Regions from separate parts of the Homo sapiens genome. Here all the other regions are linked to region 3. The links are contacts of gene promoters, found by promoter capture Hi-C in blood cells and fetal thymus (Javierre and others, 2016). All regions are on one chromosome and are shown on one strand. Each heading gives the region's core, a stretch centred on a gene start or on the middle of the fragment in contact. The rest is flanking DNA. Distances are from core to core; before and after follow the strand shown. Region 1 has its middle 19 kb from the start of OR10A7. Region 2 has its middle 32 kb from the start of OR9K2. Region 3 holds the start of OR10P1 (olfactory receptor family 10 subfamily P member 1).

Region 1 (3,247 bases), core at 212-2,711, 440 kb before region 3:
AAGGGGGCAGGAATGTGCACTCTCACATTCTTTCAATAAGGAGCATATAACACACACTCCCAGTGGCTACCTGATGGCCTGGTTTCTAATGAACTTATATTGAGAAGCTAACAGGACAAAGAAACAACAAGCTTTTGGTTGCCAAAGCAAGAGCGAGGTACTTTCTGAGACCTCTTCTCAGCTTACTCCAGAGATAAATCCAGGCCTATTCATTCTTTCTGGAAGAAATTTAGCTATGTATCAAATGCCACAACTTCCATAGCTCCCACCTAAGGAACTGTCTCCTTAGAGACCTAGCTTTGAAATCAAGGGGGCTTTGTGAATCTGAGTGACCCAAGACCACAGAAAACAAACATGTAGACATATAGTAGGACCATTTCCAGAAGCTCTCTGTCTAGGATAAGAAAATGTAGCCTGCATGTGAGAACAGGCATTTGCTGCAGATCCCCTTCCTAGTTTAGTGCAGAGAGACTACAAGATAAATGCCCACCATCATCTTCACCATGAAAATAGAAAGAACTAGAACACATATCAAAAACCTCAACCTTTTCAGCTTCATCCTAAGAGCTTAGCTCTTATACTGATAACAGAGTACTGACAAAATGTGACATGCCCTAAGCTCCAGAGGGCCACCAAAAACCAAGATAGCAATCTGGACAAACACACAGATTTTGGAGGCATCTTAAAATCTTTGGCCAGTTGAATTGGCAAAACCTTCTCATACACAAGACCAGTCTAACAAGATGAAGAGAGGTAATCTTATCTAATTTGCAGAAACCAAAAGAGGGAATCAAGGAAAATAAAGAAAGAGGGGATTATATTCCAGACAAAAGTACAAGTAACCATCCAGAAACAGAAACAAATACAAAGAACTAGAAAAGCAATAGCAAACCAAACTAAAAATAAGGCAAAGAAAAGGAATAATAAAGATCAGATCATAAATAAATAAAATTGAAACAAAATAATACTAAATATCAACAAAACAAAACTTTTTTTTGAAAAGTTAAACAAATTTGACAAACCTTTAACCAGACTAAGAAAAAAAGAGAGAAGACACAAATAAATAAAAACAGAGATAAAAAAGTAGCTATTACAACTGATAGCACAAAAATTCAAGGGCTCATCAGTGGCTACTCTGAGGAACTATATGCCAATATGTTGGAAAATCTAGTAGAAACAGATAAAGCACTAGATACATACAACCTACCAACATTGAGCCATGAAGAAATCCGGAACCTAAACAGATCAATAACAAGTAACAGGATTGAAGCTGTAACAAAAAGTCTCCCAGCAAAGAAAAGCCTGGTGCCTGATGACTTCATTGCTGAATTCTACCAAACATTTAAAGAAGCAATATTCCCAACCCTATTCAAACTATTCTGAAAAATAGAGGAGGAGTGAATACTTCCAAACTTTTGCTACAAAACCAGTGTGATCCAGACAAAGCCAGACGGCTGAATGGATTAAAACCATTCAATTGCCAAAACCAGACAAAGACACAGCAAAAAATAAAACTACAGGCCAATATCTCCAACAAAAATTGATGCAAATATCCTCAGTAAAATACTAGCAAACCAAATTCAACTATAAAGATACTATTCATCGTGAATAAGTGGGATTTATCCCAGGGATGCAAGGATGATTCAACATACACAAATCAGTCAATGTTATACATTATATCAACAGAATGAAGAACAAAAAGCATATGATCATTTCAATTGATGCTGAATAAGCATTTGATACAATTTAACATCTCTGCATGACAAAAACCCTAAAAAATGGGTATAGAAGGAACGTCCTTCAGTATAATAAAAGCCATATACGACAGACCCATAATTAGTATCATACTGAATGGAGAAAAGCTGAAAGTCTTTCCTCCAAGATCTGGAGCATGACAAGGATGCCCACTGTCTCCACCATTATTTGACACAGTACTAGAAGTCCTAGAGCAATCAGTCAAGAAAAGATATAAACAGCATCCAAATTGAAAAGGAAGAAGTCAAATTATCATTGTTTACAGATGATGTGATCTTACATTTGAAAAAACTTAAAGACTCCTTCAAAAAGTATTACAAACAATAAAGAAGTTTGGTGAAGTTACAAGATACAAAAATCAACATATAAAAATCAGTTAGCATTTTAACATACCAATAACAAATAGTCTGAAAAAGAAATCAAGAAAGTAATCCCACTTATAGTAGCTACAATTAAAATATAATACCTAGGAATTAACCAAATAGGTGAAAGATCTCTACAATGAAATGATGAAACATTGATGCAAGAAACTGAAGAGGACACAAAAAAATGGAAAGATATTCTACTTTCGGGAATTGAAAGATTTAATATTGTTAATATTTCCATACTACCCAAAGCAATCTACAGATTGAATGCAATCCCTATAATTCCAATGACATTCTTCAAAAAAATTTAAAAAATCCTAAAATTTTTATGGAACCACAAAATTCTCAGTGTGGGCAAACCTATCCTAATCAAAAAGAACAAAACTGAAGGAACATTACCCGACTTCAATTTATACTACAAAGCTATAGTAACCAAAAGAGCATGGTTCTGGCATAAAAACAGACAAATAGACCAACGGAACAGAATAGAGCACCCAGAAATAAATCTATGCATCTCAGTGAACTCACTTTAAACAAAGATACCAAGAACATACATTGGGAAAAGGACAGCCTCTTCAATAAATGATGCTGGGAAAACTAGATATCCACATGTAGAAGAATGAAATAGACCCCTATCTCACATCGCATACAAAATCAAATCAAAATGGATGAAAAGCTTTAATCTAAGACCTCGAGCTATGAAACTACTACAAGAAAACATTGGGGAAACTCCCCAGGACATTGGAATGGGCAACCAAAACAAAAATGGAAAAATGTGGTCAATCACATTAAGTAGCTTATGCACAGCAAAGGATACAATCAAAAAAGTGAAGATACAACCCACAGAATGGGGAAATATTTGCAAACTGCCCATCTGACAAGAGGTTAATAACCAGAATATATAAGGGGCTCAAACAACTCTATAGAAAGAAAATCTAATAATTTGATTAAGAAATAAGCAGAAGATCTGAATAGACATTTCTGGAAAGAAGACATACAAATGACCAACAGATATGTGAAAAGGTGCTCAACATCTCTGATCATCAGAAAAATGCAAATTAAATCTGCAATGAGATATTTAATCTCACTCCACTTAAAGTGGTTCACATTCAAAAGATAGGCAATAA
Region 2 (3,112 bases), core at 534-3,033, 480 kb before region 3:
GGTCTGTTGGAGTTTGCTAGAGGTCCACTCCAGACCCTGTTTGCCTGGGTATCAGCAGCGGTGGCTGTAGAACAGCATATATTGGTGAACTGCAAATGCTGCTGTCTCATCATTCCTCTGGAAGTTTTGTCTCAGAGGAGTACCTGGCTGTGTGAGGTGTCAGTCCGCCCCTACTGGGGGGTGCCTCCCAGTTAGGCTACTCGGGGTTCAGGGACCCACTTGAGGAGGCAGTCTGCCTGTTCTCAGATCTCAAGCTGCATGCTGGGAGAACCACTACTCTCTTCAAAGCTGTCAGAGAGGTACATTTAAGTCTGCAGAGGTTACTGCTGTCTTTTTGTTTGTCTGCGCCCTGCCCTGAGAGGTGGAGCCTACAGAAGCAGGCAGGCCTCCTTGAGCTGTGGTGGGCTCCACCCAGTTCGAGCTTCCAGGCTGCTTTGTTTACCTAATCAAACAACTAACTTGGCAATGGTGGGCGCCCCTCCCACAGCCTGGCTGCCACCTTGCAGTTTGATCTGGGACTGCTGTGCTAGCAATGAGTGAGACTCTGTGGGCGTAGGACCCTCCAAGCCATGTGCGGGATATAATCTCCTGGTGTGCCATTTTTTAAGCCTGTTGGAAAAGCACAGTATTAGGGTGGGAGTGACCCAATTCTCCAGGTGCCATCTGTCACCCCTTTCTTTGACTAGGAAAGGGAATTCCCTGACCCCTTTCGCTTCCCAGGTGAGGCGATACATCGCCCTGCTTCGGCTCACGCATGGTGCGCTGCACCCACTGTCCTGCACCTACTGTCTGGCACTCCCCTGTGAGATGAACCCAGTACCTCAGTTGGAAATGCAGAAATCACCCCTCTTCTGCGTTGCTCACGCTGGGAGCTGTAGACCGGAGCTGTTCCTATTCCGCCATCTTGGCTCCTCAATTTTATGAAAATTTCTAAATAAAACTATGTAACTTCAAATATATTAAGTTTCTAGACAGAAAAAGCTTCTCTTTTGCTAATTCAGAAATTAAATGTAGTAATAAAACCATTGATTTATAATATAAAATTTATTTTTTCCACTTTAATTTAATGTTTTAGATATCTTAAAAATTATTAATGTTTTATCTCTGTGCCTCTTTAGTATTTACTATTAAGCATTAATAGTTAGAAAAATACAAAAAACAGAACCCATGCAATACAGAATTTCCACCCCCTCCCCCCACACTTATTTGCATTATTGTCTTGTGCTTTGTTAACAATATATAGAGGGGAAAACATTTCTTGTTGGGGAAGTTAATCTTATACCTAACCATAGTGTTCCTATATAAACAAAATAATTCATATGTCTATGGCAGTAAAAAGAAAAGGCATGCTGCAGTTTGGGTGCCAGAAAAGGGAGCCACCAGCATTCAGACACTAATAGTAAATGAAGGACCTGGAAGCTGAACAATATGTGGTTAATGTAGGGGATAAGAGTCTGATTTATTATTTTGAATGACATTCTCAAGACTAGTGGTTCATTCTACCTCATTAAACTATAACCCCATGTTTCCTAATGTCTTCTATGTAGCAGAATGTTTTAAGAACCAAATTAACTGCATTAATTATCTTGTAGTGGGGAAAGGAATTGACCTATGTTTTCACTCAGTTTTCCATTCTTAGAGCACAAGAAACTTTGTGTTTGTTTTTTTATTTATTTCACTGACGTGTATGTTTTTAAGATGTTTGTGTCATTATAAATATTGCTTTTCACACTCAATTTTGTGTAATCTTCACAGGTGCCTCCCATTTGGCAGAGGAGGACTTCTGAGGTATCAAAAGTGTAGATGGTTATCTTAGATTCTTTCATACTGAAAGATGTAAAATTTGGATGCAGCCCATATGACTCCAAAGCTCTTCACAAACAGCATAAAATGACTGATAATTTACTGCTGGAAATATCCCGTGCCCATTCAAATTTCTCACATAATACTAAAACTAAATAGACGGGAAAAACCTAAATAACCTTATTTTGATTTTACTGTGGTTGCTTCTAAATGTAAAACTATTCTATCAGATGCACTGCCAAGAAAACTCCAATTTGTATCAGCGTTTTTTTGTCTGTTTTTTCCCGTTGGCAACTTCAGGGACCAAAAGTTGACCAGGCTTCATTATAATCCACTCATTTTTCTCAGATAGGTCTTGGCTATGAAGAGCGAACTGAACAGGAATTACTCAGAGGTGACAGAGTTTATTCTGCTGGGATTCAGAACATCGCCAGAAGCACAGATTCTCTTATTCTTCCTGTTCTTGCTTATCTACATGGTCATTGTGTTGAGAAATCTCAGCATGTTAGTTGTCATTGAAATAGACTCCAGACTTCACACACCTGTGTATTTCTTTCTCAGAAATTTGTCCTATTTGGATCTCCGCTACTCCACAGTTATTGCTTCCAAAACTGACTACTTTATTTTCCAAGGAAAAGAAAATTTCTTACAATGGTTGAGCAACACAGTTGTTTTTCTTTGCTCTCTTTGTTGGGACTGAAGGTTTTTTTCTGGATATGATGGCATATGATCGCTTCTCAGCTATTTGTTCACCTTTCTTCTATACTGTATGTATGTCTCAGCAAGCTTGTGTTTGTTTGGTGGTTGGCTCCTCTATCTGTGGATGCATCAACTCCATGATACAAACAGGTTTTACCTTCAGTTTGCATTTCTGTGGAGAAAACAGATTAGAGCACTTTTTCTGTGATGTCTCAGTCATGATCAAGATCTCATGTATTGACATCCTTGTGAATGAGGTAGTACTGTTTATTCTCTCTGCTCTCATCACCACCACCACAACTGTCATTCTGGCTTCCTATGTGCATATCCTCTCCACTGTCCTGAAGATTCTCTCAACCCACGGCAGAAGGAAGACTTTCTCCACTTGCAGCTCTCACATCACTGTGGTGAGTTTATTCTATGGAACTGTATTCTTCATGTATGCCCAACCTGGGGCCATCTCCAAAGAGCAAGGTTATAGTTGTATTCTAAACTCTTGTCATCCCTATGTTAAATATCTGATTTATAGTCTAAGAAATAGGTGCAAAATGCTTTGAAAAGGACATTGATAAGAAAAATATCTTTTCATTGGCCTCTAGCCATCTATAAA
Region 3 (3,427 bases), core at 565-3,064:
GGTGATTAACCTCTTTTTTTTTTTTTTTTTTTTTTTTGAGGCAGAGTCTCACTCTGTCGCCCAGGCTGGAGTGCAGTGGCACGATCTCGGCTCACTGCAAGCTCCACCTTCTGAGTTCACGTCATTCTACTGCCTCAGCCTCCTGAGTAGCTGGGACTACAGGCGCCCACCACCACGCCCAGCTTATTTTTTGTATTTTTAGTAGAGACGGGGTTTCACCGCGTTAGCCAAGATGGTCTCGATCTCCTGACCTCGTGATCCACCCACCTCAGCCTCCCAAAGTGCTGGGATTACAGGCGTGAGCCACTGCGCCTGGCCTTGGTTTTTTTTTTTTTCTTTTTTTTTTTTTTTTTTTTTTTTTGACTGGTGATTAACCTCCAAGGCAGTTGATAACTTGGTGGTTAAGATCACAGGCTCTGGGGTTAGGCAGACCTGGATTTGAACCCAAACTCTGTCACTTACAAAATGTGTGACATTGAGAAAGTTACTTAACACTGTCTGGGCTTCCCTCTCCTTATCTGTAAAATGGAGAAAATGAAGGTTTCTATGTCGTAGTGTAATTAGGAAGATCCAATGATTTAATGAATGTTTAGCCCTTAGCATGGTGCCTGGCAGGAACCAAGCACTTGGGAAACATTAGCAGCTGCTAAAATAGGTAACTGCCTCCCCACCTCCCCACCACGTCCTGCAGGATCTCACAGTGGAGTAATAAGTGCTAGGACAAAAGGACAAGCAACATCTCATGAAAGCAGAGATAAAAGTGCCTTCCTCAAATACTCAAGGGCTCTCTGGTGCAAGAGGAGTTAAATATTGTATGAAATACTAAGCATTTAGCCAAGACCAATACAGTAAAGTCTTTTCCTACAGGCAGAAGAGGCCATAGCTAGAAAGGGCTACCTCAATAGGTGGTGAGTTCCCCATCACTGCAGATGTTCAAACAGACTCTGCACAGCACCCTTCTAAAATGTTGAAGATAAGATCCAAGTACTGTCATATGGAAATATATGTTCCTAAATGTCACTTTTAATCTTGAAATGCCATGGATAATTATTTCTGAGCCTGAGGATCACAGAAAGCTGCCACCGAGATAGCGAAACTTGAGTGAAGGCTTGAAGTGTGATGGGATTTTAATATGAAGAATAGAAATATCCTCTGAAAGGAGACACTATGGCAATGCATGGAGGCCTGACAGAACAGGGTGTGCTGGGACAGAACAGCTAGTGTAGCTGATCACAGGGCCCCAGATAAGAGGAGAACAGAGAAATCAGGGAAGGTGTCAGAATCCCAATGATACCATTGGGCAGTATTATCACAAATAGTCATATCACTGTGTGACACTCTTAACCCACAGCTCACTATGGTGAACATTAGACACCAGTTCGGGACAGTCCCTGGTGCTACCCAGTTTCTTTTGTGCCTCAGCATCCATCTAGAGAGTACAAAGGGGCCTAGGTCATAGCAGCTGCTTCACCCCTCACTCTGGAGAGAGATCCAAAGATCAGAGCTAGAGTCTTTACATATGAGAGTCAGGCCCCAGACACAGGACGAGAGCCCAGGAAACAGTGAGAAAGGCGTCGAATTTGGAGTCAAGAGACCTGGATTCAAGTTCCAGGCCTGCCACTTTCTAGATATTACCTCAGACACATTATTTAATCTCTCTGAGACCCATGGCTCATTCAGAGAAAGGTATTAATTCTCTCACTTGATTTTGAGAGGAACTGTGTGGCAAGTGCTTTACCAAATTACAGAAATGTTGCTTGTTATTTCTAAATAACTTCTCTTCTTGGCTGTGCCTCAGCTTCTGGCCTGGAGTGATGGCTGGGGAAAACCATACTACACTGCCTGAATTCCTCCTTCTGGGATTCTCTGACCTCAAGGCCCTGCAGGGCCCCCTGTTCTGGGTGGTGCTTCTGGTCTACCTGGTCACCTTGCTGGGTAACTCCCTGATCATCCTCCTCACACAGGTCAGCCCTGCCCTGCACTCCCCCATGTACTTCTTCCTGCGCCAACTCTCAGTGGTGGAGCTCTTCTACACCACTGACATCGTGCCCAGGACCCTGGCCAATCTGGGCTCCCCGCATCCCCAGGCCATCTCTTTCCAGGGCTGTGCAGCCCAGATGTACGTCTTCATTGTCCTGGGCATCTCGGAGTGCTGCCTGCTCACGGCCATGGCCTATGACCGATATGTTGCCATCTGCCAGCCCCTACGCTATTCCACCCTCTTGAGCCCACGGGCCTGCATGGCCATGGTGGGTACCTCCTGGCTCACAGGCATCATCACGGCCACCACCCATGCCTCCCTCATCTTCTCTCTACCTTTTCGCAGCCACCCGATCATCCCGCACTTTCTCTGTGACATCCTGCCAGTACTGAGGCTGGCAAGTGCTGGGAAGCACAGGAGCGAGATCTCCGTGATGACAGCCACCATAGTCTTCATTATGATCCCCTTCTCTCTGATTGTCACCTCTTACATCCGCATCCTGGGTGCCATCCTAGCAATGGCCTCCACCCAGAGCCGCCGCAAGGTCTTCTCCACCTGCTCCTCCCATCTGCTCGTGGTCTCTCTCTTCTTTGGAACAGCCAGCATCACCTACATCCGGCCGCAGGCAGGCTCCTCTGTTACCACAGACCGCGTCCTCAGTCTCTTCTACACAGTCATCACACCCATGCTCAACCCCATCATCTACACCCTTCGGAACAAGGACGTGAGGAGGGCCCTGCGACACTTGGTGAAGAGGCAGCGCCCCTCACCCTGAAGGGACTCGGATGTCTGCTCACTCACTCAGTGCTCATCCTCCCACTCTTCAGGGACTGGATTTAAACCCCACTCTCACAGAAATCATGCAGCACCTCAAAGGAAAAGGCTTCCTGGAAGAAAGTGCTGAAATTAAAACAGAGATAAATCTACATATTGCCTCTTATCCCAGAGTCCACACTCACTATCAGAGCATGGGTTATTAGGTCAAGGTAGAATGAAAGTGATTGCTGCCCTAGGGAAAGGACATTTATTTAGCATCTTCTAGATTGTTCTGGATCCCTGAGCACAGTGATTGCCATGGCTGCACCGGTAGCCAGAGGTCCATGTCAGTCATGAAAGCAGGTGTCTGTGAACTTGACATCCAACTAAGTGGCCCACCCAAAGCCTGTGGAGGAGTTTACCTAGCCCCTCTGTTACATTTTCTTCCACCACCTGTGTCTGAGCTTTCCTCTACTCAGTGGAACATCTGTTCTCCCCTTGGCCTTCAGGAAGAGGGGCATCTGAGGGTTCCAGTCATAAGGCTCTCTCCTTCCCAAGATACCAGCACAAAAGGGAAGATGGTCAGATGGTATCAAAAAGGACCAAGTTAAACATCAGGAAAAGTTATCTCCCAGGACAGCCTATACATGTCTCCCAGAAACACACTGGGGTGTCCTACTGTGGGTGCTT

What was found. The method cuts DNA at HindIII sites, captures the fragments that hold promoters and counts their contacts. A CHiCAGO score of 5 or more calls a contact.
Region 1: a contact is called between a fragment that was not itself captured here and the fragment with the promoter of OR10P1 in region 3, in 2 of 17 cell types (endothelial precursors and naive B cells). The highest score is 5.3, in endothelial precursors.
Region 2: a fragment that was not itself captured here is called in contact with the fragment with the promoter of OR10P1 in region 3 in 4 of 17 cell types (M1 macrophages, naive B cells, M2 macrophages and 1 more); the score reaches 7.1 in M1 macrophages.

What each region holds. Positions count from the first base shown.
Region 1 is chr12:55,200,400-55,203,646 of GRCh38, forward strand. No RefSeq gene overlaps it. Among named protein-coding and RNA genes, the nearest start is that of OR10A7, 19 kb to the right of the region's middle. The HindIII fragment of the contact is 2,665 bases long and covers 130-2,794 here.
Region 2 is chr12:55,156,683-55,159,794 of GRCh38, forward strand. It overlaps the pseudogene OR9R1P. Among named protein-coding and RNA genes, the nearest start is that of OR9K2, 32 kb to the left of the region's middle. The HindIII fragment of the contact is 1,608 bases long and covers 980-2,587 here.
Region 3 is chr12:55,635,078-55,638,504 of GRCh38, forward strand. It overlaps OR10P1 (olfactory receptor family 10 subfamily P member 1), which reads left to right and starts at 1,815. Exons shown (of 1, transcript NM_206899.1): 1 at 1,815-2,756. The coding sequence starts at 1,815. The coding sequence ends at 2,756. RefSeq lists an enhancer at 1,652-2,153. The HindIII fragment of the contact is 13,599 bases long and covers 1-3,427 here.